2 separate regions of the Homo sapiens genome follow, and region 1 is linked to region 2. The links are contacts of gene promoters, found by promoter capture Hi-C in human tissues and cell types (Jung and others, 2019). All regions are on one chromosome and are shown on one strand. The core of a region is centred on a gene start or on the middle of the fragment in contact, and the rest is flanking DNA. Distances in the headings are between cores, read along the strand shown. Region 1 overlaps RPF2 (ribosome production factor 2 homolog). Region 2 holds the start of TRAF3IP2 (TRAF3 interacting protein 2).

The links. Contacts are between HindIII fragments. The study calls those that stand out against the background at their distance.
Region 1: a contact is called between a fragment that was not itself captured here and the fragment with the promoter of TRAF3IP2 in region 2, in 1 of the 25 tissues and cell types used here (spleen).

Annotation. Positions count from the first base shown.
Region 1 is chr6:110,983,355-110,989,531 of GRCh38, reverse strand. RPF2 (ribosome production factor 2 homolog) reads right to left here. Exons shown (of 10, transcript NM_032194.3): 2 at 4,394-4,526; 3 at 467-504. Among named protein-coding and RNA genes, the nearest start is that of RPF2, 4.4 kb to the right of the region's middle. The HindIII fragment of the contact is 4,760 bases long and covers 1-3,630 here.
Region 2 is chr6:111,600,801-111,607,606 of GRCh38, reverse strand. TRAF3IP2 (TRAF3 interacting protein 2) reads left to right here and starts at 1,729. Exons shown (of 9, transcript NM_147686.4): 1 at 1,729-1,831. It also overlaps TRAF3IP2-AS1. RefSeq lists enhancers at 133-765, 1,611-1,660, 1,951-2,020. The HindIII fragment of the contact is 20,769 bases long and covers 1-4,210 here.

The DNA.
Region 1 (6,177 bases), core at 1-2,500, 620 kb after region 2:
TTGTAGTGAGCAGAGATCATGCCACTGCACTCCAGCCGGGCGACAACAGGACTCCGTCTCAAAAGAAGGAAAAAAGAAAAACTGGTGCTAATCAAATATGTCTGTCATTTGATTAACATGAGTGAATCGGTGTTAATTTATTAGTTTTGATCATTGCATTACGGTTATGCAAGATGTAACATTAGGGGAAGCCAGGTGAAGGGTATATGGGAATTCTGCATTATTTTTGCACTTTTCTGTAAATCTGTATTTCAAAATAAAATATATATGCTATGGTTACAACTATGCAAGGACATTCAATACAAATGAAAAAAACAGACCAAAAGAAAGAAATTAAAATATTAATAACTGTAAGGAATTTTAATATCTTTTTAAAAAGTTTTTGTTTTCCAAATCTTCCATAAAGTGGTTACTTTTATAATGAAACAAAATCATTTAAAATACAGTAAAAGAAATCATGACTTACTTTTTATATAGTACACCGTATGGTTTTTTCAGTGCATACTGTAAAACAAAATTTATAGCTTTCAAAACAAAACACATTCTGAAAAGCAGAAATAAAAATAAAGCATCATAACAGTCACTCTCCAAGATTGCTCTGGGGCCTCAATCTTATTCTGAGGGCTTCTGCCTGGCTCCCTTTTCATCACTTACAGTAACTTGAAATGTAAGCTTAATATTCTTGGACTAGACTTTCCTATTTAAAAGTTTCTATGCCCTGTCAATAGTCTATCCAACTTAAACAATTTCCTTCATTTCTTTAAACTCGACTTAGTCCAGTCTCTCTCTAGGGAAACAATTCCAGGTGCAGTGGCTCACGCCTGTAATCCCAACACTTTGGGAGGACAAGGCAGATCACTCAAGCCCAGGAGTTCGAGACCAGCCTGGGCAACATGGCAAAACCCTGTCTCTACAAAAAACTGCAAAAATTAGCCAGGCATAGTGGTGCATGCCTGCAGTCCCAGCTACTTGGGAGGCTAAGGCGGGAGGATCACCCGAGCTCAGGAATTCGAGGCTGTGGTGAACCGTGATTGCACCACTGCACTCCAGCTCTGGTGATAGAGTGAGACCCTGTCTCAGAAAAAAAAAAAAAAAAAGTAGTAGACAAAAACAGAAAAAATAAATTCTATCACGAAAGGCTGACAGATTGAAATAATGTTGCGTGGAGATCAGAAAACTTAGAAACAGTAATAATGATGACAATTAGAATACTAGCCAGAGGTTAAACACAGCTCTTTAAAAAATGCCTATTATTCAATGTTCTTCATTTTTTTCCTAGTTCTACCTATCCACAAATAATCATTCATTTTATTTTATTTATTTATTTTTGAGACAGGGTCTCACTCTGTTGCCCAGGCTGGAGTGCAATGGCGTGATTAAAGCTTACTGCAGCCTGAAACTCCAGGGCTCAGGTGATCCTCCCATCTCAGCCTCCCAAGTACAGACACATGCACCACGCCCAGCTAATTTTTGTATTTTGAGTGGAGATGGGGTTTCACCATGTTGTCCAGGCTGTATTTTATTATTTTTTTAAATTTAATTTATAGAGATGGGGTCTCACTTTGTTGTCCAGGCTGTCATCCTAGGCTTAAGTGATCCTCCCACCTCAGCCTCCCAAAGTGCTGGGATTACAGGTGTGAGCCACCACACCTGGCCTATAATCATTTATTACTTGTATGGCCAGTACTGCTCTACCATAGAGAATAACAAAGATGTCATCAGGTACTACCTTGCATTAGAGAAATGGGTAAATGAGGGAAACAATGAAAAATAAGGTATAATAATCATTCATCAACTATCAGAGTTGGTGAACAAAGAAAATGCAACAGTAAAATCTACCTTTTTAAGTACTAAAACTTTTGATGATTCTTGGCCAACTATTTCCCTGTTTCCGTGTAATAAACATTGCCACCTCTTCTTGATGACTCAGAGTCATCATGATGAATTTTAATTATTGTAGTAATCTGTAATATTGTGCTGCTTTTAAAGCTTACTTAAATATGCAGGGTCATTGTGCTGATGGATACTAGAAGGAGAGGGGCAGTTTCCCGTTAGCACAATGAAATTCAGACAAACATTTCAAAAAAGGGATGGGCCTATATAAGGCATTCAGACATCTGAATTGACTATGCTTATCAGGCATAGAGTTTGGTCAAGTTTAAAATATATTCAAAGCCAGGCATGGTGGCTCACTCCTGTAATCTCAGCACTTTGGGAGGCCGAGGCGGACAGATCATGTCAGGTCAGGAGTTTGTGACCAGCCTGGCCAACATGGTGAAACCCTGTCTCTACTAAAAGAACACAGAAATTAGCTGGGTGTGGTGGCTCCCAGCTACTTGGGAGGCTAGAGGCAGGAGAATCGCCTGAACCCGGGAGTCAGAGGTTGCAGTAAGCCAAGATGGCACCACTGCACTTCAGCCTGGGCAACAGCGTGAGACTCCACCTCAATAACAACAACAAAAATGTATTCGATTACTTAATTGATTTAATTCAAAGATCTATTGGCTGTACTCAAGGCCTAATTAGTCAAATAACCTACTAGATATCTCCACATACTATGTCTTTTTTTTTTTTTTAGTTGGAGTCTTGCTCTGTTACCCAGGCTGGAGTAAGTGCAATGGCGTGGTCTCAGCTCACTCCAACCTCCATCTCCCAGGTCCAAGCAGATTTTCCGGCCTCAGCCTCCCTAGTAGCTGGGATTACAGGCGCCCACCACCATGGCTGGCTAATTTTTGCATTTTTAGTAGAGACAGGATTTCACCGTGTTAGCCAGGCTGGTCTCGAACTCCTGACCCCGTGATCCGCCCACCTCGGCCTCCCAAAGTGCTGGGATTACAGGTGTGAGCCACTGTGCCTGGCCCATACTATGCCTTTCTTTCATAGATTACATATATATTGAGTACCTACTATGTCCAGACACTGGGCTGTACACTAGGCTACAGAGGTAGAAAAAACAAAGCTTTTATTTTCATTACTTAAATTACATGTCCCAAACCGAACCTTTCACCTTTCCCTCCAAACCTGCTCCGCTTGATACATTTTCTAATTGGCATTATTGCCCATCAGGCACTCAAGCCAAACACCTGGGAAGTCATACTTTTCACTAGTTCCCAACTCTTCTTTCCTCAACATCTATTCTTTCTGGTCATTTCTCATTTTCATTGCCACCACTGGACTCCAGATGCTCTTCACCTAGCTGGCAGCAATGGCTTAGTTTCCTACATTTGCTCTCAACCCTCTCTAATCAAGCCAATTAAAAGGACTGATGGTATCTCTTGCTTAATATCTTTCAATGATTACACGGAGCTTTCAGATTAGAATTCAAATTTCATGTTACTATGTGACCCATGCCTCCTCTTCTAGCCTCATCTAGCCCACTCTCCTTTGGCCATGCCCAATTATTTACAGTTCTCCAAATGCATCAATGCTCCTTCATACTCCCTTTTGCACAAACTTCTTTCTCAGCCTCAGAGGATCTTCTCTTTCTCTCCCACTTCTTGCACCAACTTCTCCTTCAAAATGAAGCTGCAGTGTTATCTCTGGGGGAACCTACCCTGTGTGGGGGTCCCCCTATGTGATTTTTTTTTTTTTTTTTTGAAATGGAGTCTCTCTCTGTCACTCAGGCTGGAGCAGTGGCACAATCTCGACTGACTGTGACCTCCACCTCCCAGGTTCAGGCGATTCTCCTGCCTCAGCCTCCCGAGCAACTGGGACTACAGGCGCCCGCCACCACACCCGGCTAATTTTTGTACTTTTAGTAGAGACGGGGTTTCACCATGTTGGCCAGGCTGGTCTCGAACTTCTGACTTCGTGATCCTCCTGCCTCGGCCTCCCAAAGTGCTGGGATTACAGGCGTGAACCACCGTGCCTGGCCTCCCCTATGTGATTTTAACTGTTTCCCACCCTACCCTGTCCATGCCTCCAGCACAGCACAGTGTAAGAACTTTTTACATGTCTATCTCTCTAAGCTCACTGAAAGAACTGTGTCTCACCTATTAATTCCCAGCAGAGGCACAGTAACCGGTGTTGTTGAATGACTAAATATACAGCAATATGCAGTTACTTCTCTTTACAAATTAGATTTTTTCCTAAAATGTAAGTAAGCCAAATTCTAGTAATTGAAAACAGTTTAAATTTACTAAGGGAGACCTTCACTCTACCAGACCCACCTGTGCTCCTAAAAAACAATAATAAAATTTACTAAGAGAACTAGTTGCTTTAAGAAAAGGTGCCACGCAAGGTAAATAAACCCCCAACTTTAGCTCTTCTCTAAGACTAGTAGTTCTTATGGTAAGGCAAGCTTATCTACGTATTTCTCCGACAGCCCATCCTAGCATGCTGAAAATTCTAAAATGACTTCAATACCTTTTAAAGATTAAGTATATATACTTACCACATCTTTAAGTACTTTTGTCACTGTTGCATTTGCATTTCCCCCTTTAATCAGCATGGCATTTTTAATATTTTCATTGAGTTTCGGTTCTCTCTTCTCAAGGAATCTCTTGGCTCTTTTCGTTTTGGGCTTTCTGTTCAGAAAAGCACAATTCATAACTATTTAAACATTTTCCTCACATTGCAAAGCCATGACTTAACTAATATGAAAATTCTTAAAAACATATTTGTCACTTAGGGTTCCACCCTTAAAAAAAATCTCACTTTCTTTTTTTTGTTTGTTTTTTTTTGTTTGTTTTTGAGATGGAGTCTCACTCTGTCACCCAGGCTGGAGAGTGATGGCACAATCTTGGCTCACTGCAACATCCACCTCCTGAGTTCAAGCAATTCTCCTGCCTCAGCCTCCCGAGTAGCTAGAATTACAGGCACACACCACCACGCCTGGGTAATTTTTGTATTTTTAGCAGAGACAGGGTTTCGCCATGTTGGTCAGGCTATTCTCGAACTACTGACCTCAGGTGATCCGCTCACCTCGGCTCCCAAAGTGCTGGGATTACAGGTGCGAGCCACAAGGGCCGGCCAAAATCTCACTTTTTTGGTAGATATTAGTAAAAGATATTTCCTTATTATTGTTAAATAAGTGTTTTGATAGCTTTTAAAAAAAAGCTTTCATTTTTGTATTCCCACCATTCTTTTATTACTGCTCTTTCCAATCTTTTTTTTAAGTAAAAAATAAAAGGCTCAAGTAAATACTGTTGCTGTTTTTTTTCTCTTACTCTTTCTTACTCTTCTTTTTTCTTCAAACTTTAAGTAGTCAAACTGTATCCTGTACCCTAATACAAAGAATTGAGCATCAACTGCTGATCAACCTGTGGACATTTACTAAACATAAGACTAACGACTGCTTATTTTTCTTTTAGGTTTAAGACCACAATGCCTGCCAGGAAGTATACACTGTTGCACTCCAACATCATTGCTGAGAATGCCAGTATTATTGCCAACAATGGGGAATAATAAGGCTGATGTTTACATGGAGTCACTCTATTAAGGCTTAATCTTCACCACAATCCTGAGAGTTACAATTCTTATTTATTTATTTATTTATTTTTTTGAGACAGAGTCTCGCTCTGTCGCCCAGGCTGGAGTGCAGTGGTGCGATCTCGGCTCACTGCAAGCTCCGTCTCCCAGGTTCACGCCATTCTCCTGCCTCAGCCTCCCGAGTAGCTGGGACTACAGGCGCCCGCCACGACGCCCGGCTAATTTTTTGTATTTTTAGTACAGACGAGGTTTCACCGTGTTAGCCAGGATGGTCTCGATCTCCTGACCTCGTGACCCACCCCCCCGCCTCAGCCTCCCAAAGTGCTGGGATTACAGGCGTGAGCCTCCACGCGCGAGTTACAATTCTTATCTTCACTTTACAGATGAGGCAATTGAACAGACAGGTAATGTGCCCAAGATCACACAGCAAGTAAACAGGCCAATTTTTAAAATGAGCTAGGGCTGGGAGGTGGCCCACAGCCTGTAATAAAAACACTCTAGGAGGCCAAGGTGGATGGATCACTGAGCCCAGAAGTTCGAGACCAGCCTGGGCAACAATGCAAAACCCTGTCTCTACAAAAAATACAAAAATTAGCTGTGGTGGTGTGCGCCTATAGTCCCAGCTACTCAGCAGGCTGAGGTAGGAGGACTGCTTGATCCCAGGGAGGTCGAGGCTGCAGTGAGCTGTGATGGGGCTACTGCACTCCAGCCTGGGTGACAGAGTGATACCCTGTCTCAAAAAAAAAC
Region 2 (6,806 bases), core at 480-2,979:
AAATTTAAAAATTAGCTAGGTGTGGCGGTGTGCACCTGTAGTCCCACCTACCCGGGAGACTGAGGCAGGAGGATTGTTTGAGCCCAGGAGGTCAAGGCTGCAGTGAGCTATGATTGCGCCACTGCACTCCAGCCTGGGCAATAGACTGAGACACTGTCTCTTAAAAAAAATCGATATACATATCTATGTGTGTGTATATGTCACATATATTGGCAAAAAATAAGATAATACTTTTAGTTAAATAATATCTCAGAGCCACTTTTTCATGTTAGTGGCTCAGATAATACATACATATTGATGATTTTTAATAGCTGCATCATTTTCTGCAAACCAAATGCAAACAACCTGTGTATACTGTGTTAAAAACAAGCTGCATTTTCTCTGCTTGTGGAATGTTGAGCAACCTGCTTCCTGTATCCTGCTTGAGCAGAACCTGGTACAATCTGAACAGGGATGCTCTGGGGCCTGTCCCCTTGATGAGAGTAGAGAGATAGCCGGCTGAGTGGACTGACACTTGGACCCCTTCAACAGGCAGACAAGTCCAGCACCAGGAGCATGGTGTGTCTGCCCAGGGCGCCCAGCTGGCCAGTGACATGGCTGAGTTCGTACCCAGGTCCTCCTGACTCCAAAGCTCCAGCTAACACTGCTCCCATTACTGACTGCTGCCCCGAAAGGCAGTTGTCTCTCTCTCTCTCTGTTCACATCGCTGGGTATCATCCTGCCTGCAGCGCTCCTTCATGCAATAAATTCTGCAGGCTACTGATTAAACAATGGGAAGGAAAGGGGAGAAAAAAAATCTTGAGGTCAGGAAAATGCAGCCAGAGGAGGTTAGTGTGCATGTGTGCATGTGTATGTATGTGTGTGTGTGTGTTCTTAAAATTAACCACTTTTTTTGTGCCTGACAATAGGGTGGTGTGTGTGCACAAGCCACAGGCATGTGTATGCTGTGTGTACACGTGTGTCCAGGAGCATGGTCAGTGAGCCCCCCCCCACCCCCCCAGTGGTTATGGGCAGCAAATACTGATTTTTTGGGTTTTTTTAAATTTTTTTTTTGAGACGGAGTCTTCGCTCTGTCGCCCAGTCTGGAGTGCAGTGGCGATCTCGGCTCACTGCAAGCTCCACCTCCCGGGTTCACGCCATTCTCCTGCCTCAGCCTCCCGAGTAGCTGGGACTACAGGCGTCCGCCACTACGCCCGGCTAATTTTTGTATTTTTTAGTAGAGACGGGGTTTCACCTTGTTAGCCAGGATGGTCTCGATCTCCTGACCTCGTGATCCTCCCGCCTCGGCCTCCTAAAGTGCTGGGATTACAGGCGTGAGTCACCGCGCTCGGCAATGCTGATGTTTTAAGCAGTTAGAGGAGGTGGAAGAAGCTCGACTCCCTCTTCTTCCCCATTATCTGCCCACAATCCCCTCCTTTGGAGCTGCTAATGATTACTAATTCTTAACATTCGAGTTCAATCTCCTCCCGGAGACACCCTCCCAGGCGAGGGCACTGCGACTACACTGAGGTTCTGCCCACTCCTGGGCAGCTTCTTAGCTGGGTGGCGAAAACAAAAATGCCGCCTAATTGGTCACTGGCCCTTTCTCATGAATGAAGGAGGTTTCTGTTTTAAGAAATAAAGTGACTCCTCAGCCGTTGATTCACTGCCCACAGGGAGATTTTGAGCAGAGGCTTCCTAGGCTCCGTAGAAATTTGCATACAGCTTCCACTTCCTGCTTCAGAGCCTGTTCTTCTACTTACCTGGGCCCGGAGAAGGTGGAGGGAGACGAGAAGCCGCCGAGAGCCGACTACCCTCCGGGCCCAGTCTGTCTGTCCGTGGTGGATCTAAGGTAAGTTATTCGGAGTTGCCACTTGCCTGGTCTTATTTCTTCACCTCTGACCTATTTCCCAAAGCACGCTGTTTCTCCTTTACTGAAACATTCTGCCTCTACTTTCCTCTGTGTTCGTCTCCCCTCCTTTAACTTGTTCGCACAGAGACCATCTTAGCTGAGAAAATGACAGTGAAGTTTGTGCTGCAAGGATGTGTTGCTAGTATAGTATTTCAGGCCAGCGAGCCCCGCCGGGTTAACCCTTTGAGGAGAGGAGGCTCGCACACGGGGACAGCTCGGAGCTGCCTGGGAACCATTCGTTTGGGTACTTAGTGTCCCCACAAGTTTCTCTCAAGAATTCAAGCCCCACTTCTCCAAAGAGAGAGCCAGGGATGGCAAAGATTAAGTAATTGGCTTTCAGCCCCAGAACACGTCAGTGGCAGTTTTCTCAATCCTTGTTTCGTGCAGGGGGGAAAAAAATCAACAGCACATTTTTGGGCCAGGAAGTTCTGCTGAGCTCTGTGCTGGCTGTGAGCCGCCTCCCGGCCCCTCTCCGCAGCCGCCCTCCAGCCCTCCCAGCCTGGCGCTGGACGGAGCCTTTGGGAACAAGGGGGAGAAATGCCAGAACTTGATCTTAGAAGCTAATCAAGCTTCTTGTGACTTTCAAGTTCAAGATGGTATCTTAGAATAGGGGGATTTTTTTTTTTTTAAAGGAACAGGAGAACAAGAGGCCAAATTTTTTAAAAGGACAAGAAACTTGGTTTCAAGTTCTTCACTTCTTGTGGTTCCATGACTTAGGCAATTCACTCTGACTCCACTAAGCCTGGATTTCTTCATCAGTAAATTGATGGGGGGTGGTGATCTAACATGAGTGTGTCAAATTCCCTTATAAAACAAAGCCAGGATAGTCCCAGAGGGGTAGTGGTAATGGGTGGTCTTCAAGACTTGTTTTGTTTACCGATTATTCACATATTTTAATTTTACCTCCCACTACCAGTTGGTTACCCCCTTGAGGAAAGGACTTTGTTTCCTGATATTTTTCTACCTCCCAGAATCCAGCATGCTACCAAATGCCTAGTAGGTGCTCACCCCCCTTCCATGTCAACTGCTTTGATTTCTGTTTCACTCGTCTGCTCTCAAGGCAAGAGGTAAAGCAGCAGTCAGGGCGAAAGGCTGGGAGACACGTGTCTCTGCGGGAGGGCTGCCTGGAATTGAGGCCTTATTACTGGCTCTAGCCAAATAGGAGAAAACAGGGAGTTTCTCGAATTAGTTCATGTCCCATTTGGGTTACCCAGGAAGGATAGTCTGTGCTATTGTCCACAGAGTCAAGGCAGGCCAGAGAACTGGCAGACAAGCCCAGCTCCAGAAGCCAGAGTTACTGCTGTAGCTGGACCTGGAAACCACTCCTCAGCTGGACCAGTCACTGTGTGTGGGGCCTTTAATGGGAGGGGAAGGGAAACTATGAAACACATCCTAATACCATGTAAGGGTGATGACTGTGATTAGAGACATTATTAGATGGCGGATACACAGAATCCTTAACTTTTTCCAGACCGTGACTTAAAAAAAAATTGTCATTGTTTCTTTTTGGCAATTACTTGCCATCAATACAGTTCAAACAGGCCCTAGCTGACTGGGATGGGCTGGTGCAGGACTTTTGGTTTCTGTGGGATGTCCTGGTGTAGTCCGTGTCATGTTTTTAGGCATTTCTCTCTATTCCCCTGGGATGAAAGGACAGGAATTTCAAGATATTTCACCTGCAATGAGTTCCTGATTTTATTTTCAAACAACGATGCACCATTATCTGAAAGCAGGCTAACTGTTGTGCACTTGCCAGCCTCGCTCTAATCCTTAAAGGCCACACACCACAGTCATTCTTAATCTGCTGCTGCAGCTACCAGTCACTCCATGATGGAGCATCAAAAGATGGATAATGTAGTTACTCTGCTCTGTTCCTTGCATGGGGTGGGTTAAACAGAAGTGAGGTCTGAGTAATGTACCAACATGTCGGATAGAAAGGTTCTTAACTCAGGGTTACTCATTTTTGGAAGGTGTAGAGACAGGAAATGTTAAAGCCTGCTTCTCCTGGGATTAAGGAGTTAGTGACTTTCAAATGCTCTGAAAAGAAAAAGAAGAGGAGAAGACAGTCATATCTGCAGGCATTCTTCAACAGGCATTCAGAAAGATTATGGTGGGGTAGTTTGTCTAAATGAAATCTTTGTTTTACACGTTGTAGAATGGAAATCTCAGGAATATCCTGAATTCAAATCATTTTTCTTCTGCAGGCAATTTTAAATTAGCTTCTAAAAACATATATGAATTGCAGGCAACTGCTGCAGAAAAAAAAGAGTGAACACAGATGAGGCATATTCAACTTTAAATTCCTTTCAGATCCAATGAAATGACCCCTAATGTTTGATCACATTTCCTTATCAAAACAATCCTGCAGTCTGAAGGATTTTTCCATGAGAAAGTGTCTGAGGACTGGAATCAAGAAGCTGCCCCCCGGGCCTCTCCTGTTTCTTCCCAATGCGTTGTCACCAAGATATTTTTAGTTCATGAAACTCAGGCTGTCCTTTCTCCCACTTATGGTCTTTGCCTCCCGTGCCCAGCAGGCCTCCTAGAAGCACACATGTGCTTGGCTGTGACTACTCAGCTCACTCTGTAGCTGTGTGTGCACGCCTTGTGTGTGTGTGTGTGTGTGTGTGTGTGCACACCTTGTGTGTGCACAGACCTTCCCGGATACCAGGAGTTGTAGACTGGCTGAAGAAGGGTGGGCTTCCATCCATGGGGTGATCCTTAGGTCTGTGCTGGTTTGGCTTGGTTCCCTGATAAGGCAGCTGAACTCAAGCCCTTTAGGAGGGCCAGGACTGACCGGAGCTCCCAGCCTGTGCCCCTCTCCTCGCACCCCACAGGCCGCACCCCACAGACTGAGGCTGCCTGGGGTCTTGGCAGCTCCCTCAGCAATGAGGGATACTTGCTCTCCGCTGCCTCATTGTTTCCCTGCAGTCAGGATGCCAGTGTTTTTTCCCTTTCCCCTTCCCAGAGTCAACAGGTCTCCCTCCCCGCTCTGAACTCTCTTCCTACTCTGAGCTGTCTGTCCAAACTCTTCCTGGCCTCCCAGCTTACCCTATGACACTCTTACCTTTCACCTATATTCATTCTTTCCCTTCTCTTCCAACTGCCCCTTCTCATACCCAGCACTACATACAAATTACAAGTAAATAAGTGTCTCTCCTACACCAATAAAAGGCAAATACAAAAAAATCCTTCAGCGTTTCCCCACTTTCCTTACTTCTCTTCCGTTCTCCTTCCTTCCTTTCTCTCCCTTCCTCTTCCTCTCTTGGTTTTTCCTTTCTACCCCTTCCTCTCCTTCACTCCGTGGCTGTGGCTGAATTAGGGATCACACATGTGCTTAGAGAAACCATCTTATCTGAAGAAACAAAAAAACAAAAACCAAAACAATGACAACGACAGAAAAAAAAAAAAAACATGGGCTGGTTTGAGGTTGTTCTCTAAATGTTTATTATAACTTCTAATGTGATGGAGTCAGTGTGTTCCCATTAGTCCTTCTCCTCCTCATTTAGTAGCTCAGAGGAGTCCCAGAGCAAACTTCCTCAAATCAGGTCGGTTCATACTGCACTGCCTTCAGCCTGATGTGAGTCTTACTGTGCTGGGTTTATGTCCAAGGGCCAGTAAATATTCCCTTCCTTCCAGGGCTCACCACTGTTTCAAATCCTCTGGCAAGCCCAGTGGAAGAACTTCTCTGTATGGGAAATTCAGCAAGTAAACTTGGAAGTATTTGTTCATTGGAGTTTGAATCTGAGCCAAACAGTTCACTCAAAACCAACCTTCCACTCAGCAAACCAGTGTTATGAAAGTTTGCATGCATTTGGGCAGGAAACAAAGGACATTAATGAGTTTAAAGATTTTTTTTTAAATCCATGACTTTTGGACATTTATTAAAAAGATTACTCTCTGGGGAATGAAGTAAGGCCTTGGGAATCTTGTAATTGAAAGTTTCTGATCCGAAGTAGATCTCAGGATCCTCCCAGCTGTAAATTTATAGATTTCTTTTTAATGTCCACCTGAAATATTCATGCTGTGTGTCTCTAGGACGCTTCAAACCTATTCCTGACTCAAAGAAAGCTTAAGAAAAAATCCAAGCAGTTGTGATCACCAAGGCCTGATTATGGAGGAGCTGTTAATATGGTTTATTAATTACTCAGGCTGCTCACTCCTGTCCTTCCTCTGTTCCTTGCTGTGCTATTTGTCTTCTTCTGGGGACATAACACCTTCATTAAATCCCATCCGTCCTTGCCTTAGAGTTGTCCCCTGGAAGATAGCTCCCCTCTAGATGCATCACCATTTATCATCACCCTTTGTTGGTGCTCTGTCAACCAGTTTTCAATTTATTTTGAATTCAGTTAATGATTAAAATTTAATGAGATCCAGTCAAATGCTTTTCTCAAATCAAGATGCCTCTGCAGCCTCATCTGTATCCTCTTGTGATGGCGTGAAGGAAAGCCATGGCAGATTTCCAGCCTGGTGATGCTGTACAGAACACAGGTGGCCTGCTTCCATGCCTCCTCAGCTTCAAGGTGAATGGCTCTGAAGCATATTTATTACAGAATCTCCTAGGGGTTATGTGGCTTCCCCATCCCCTTTCTTCCCTCCCAATAGCTGAACCAGTCAGTGCTCCCAACCGAGATGCAAGCGGTTAAGTGCACAGGATCTGGTGCCAAACCGCTTATATTTGAATCACAGCTCTGCTACTTAATAGCCATGTGACCTCGGAAAAGTTACTTACCTTCTCTATGCCTTGCTTTTCCTGTCTGTAAAATGAGTCTGACAATAGTACTTAGGAAATTAGAGTGGGTGTGAGGATTAAGTAAGTTAATATATCTATCACACTTGGAACAGCATTTCCCACGTAGTCACCATTCAATAAATATTAACAATGATTGCTAACAAAGAGTAAAGTTCCTTAAGTATG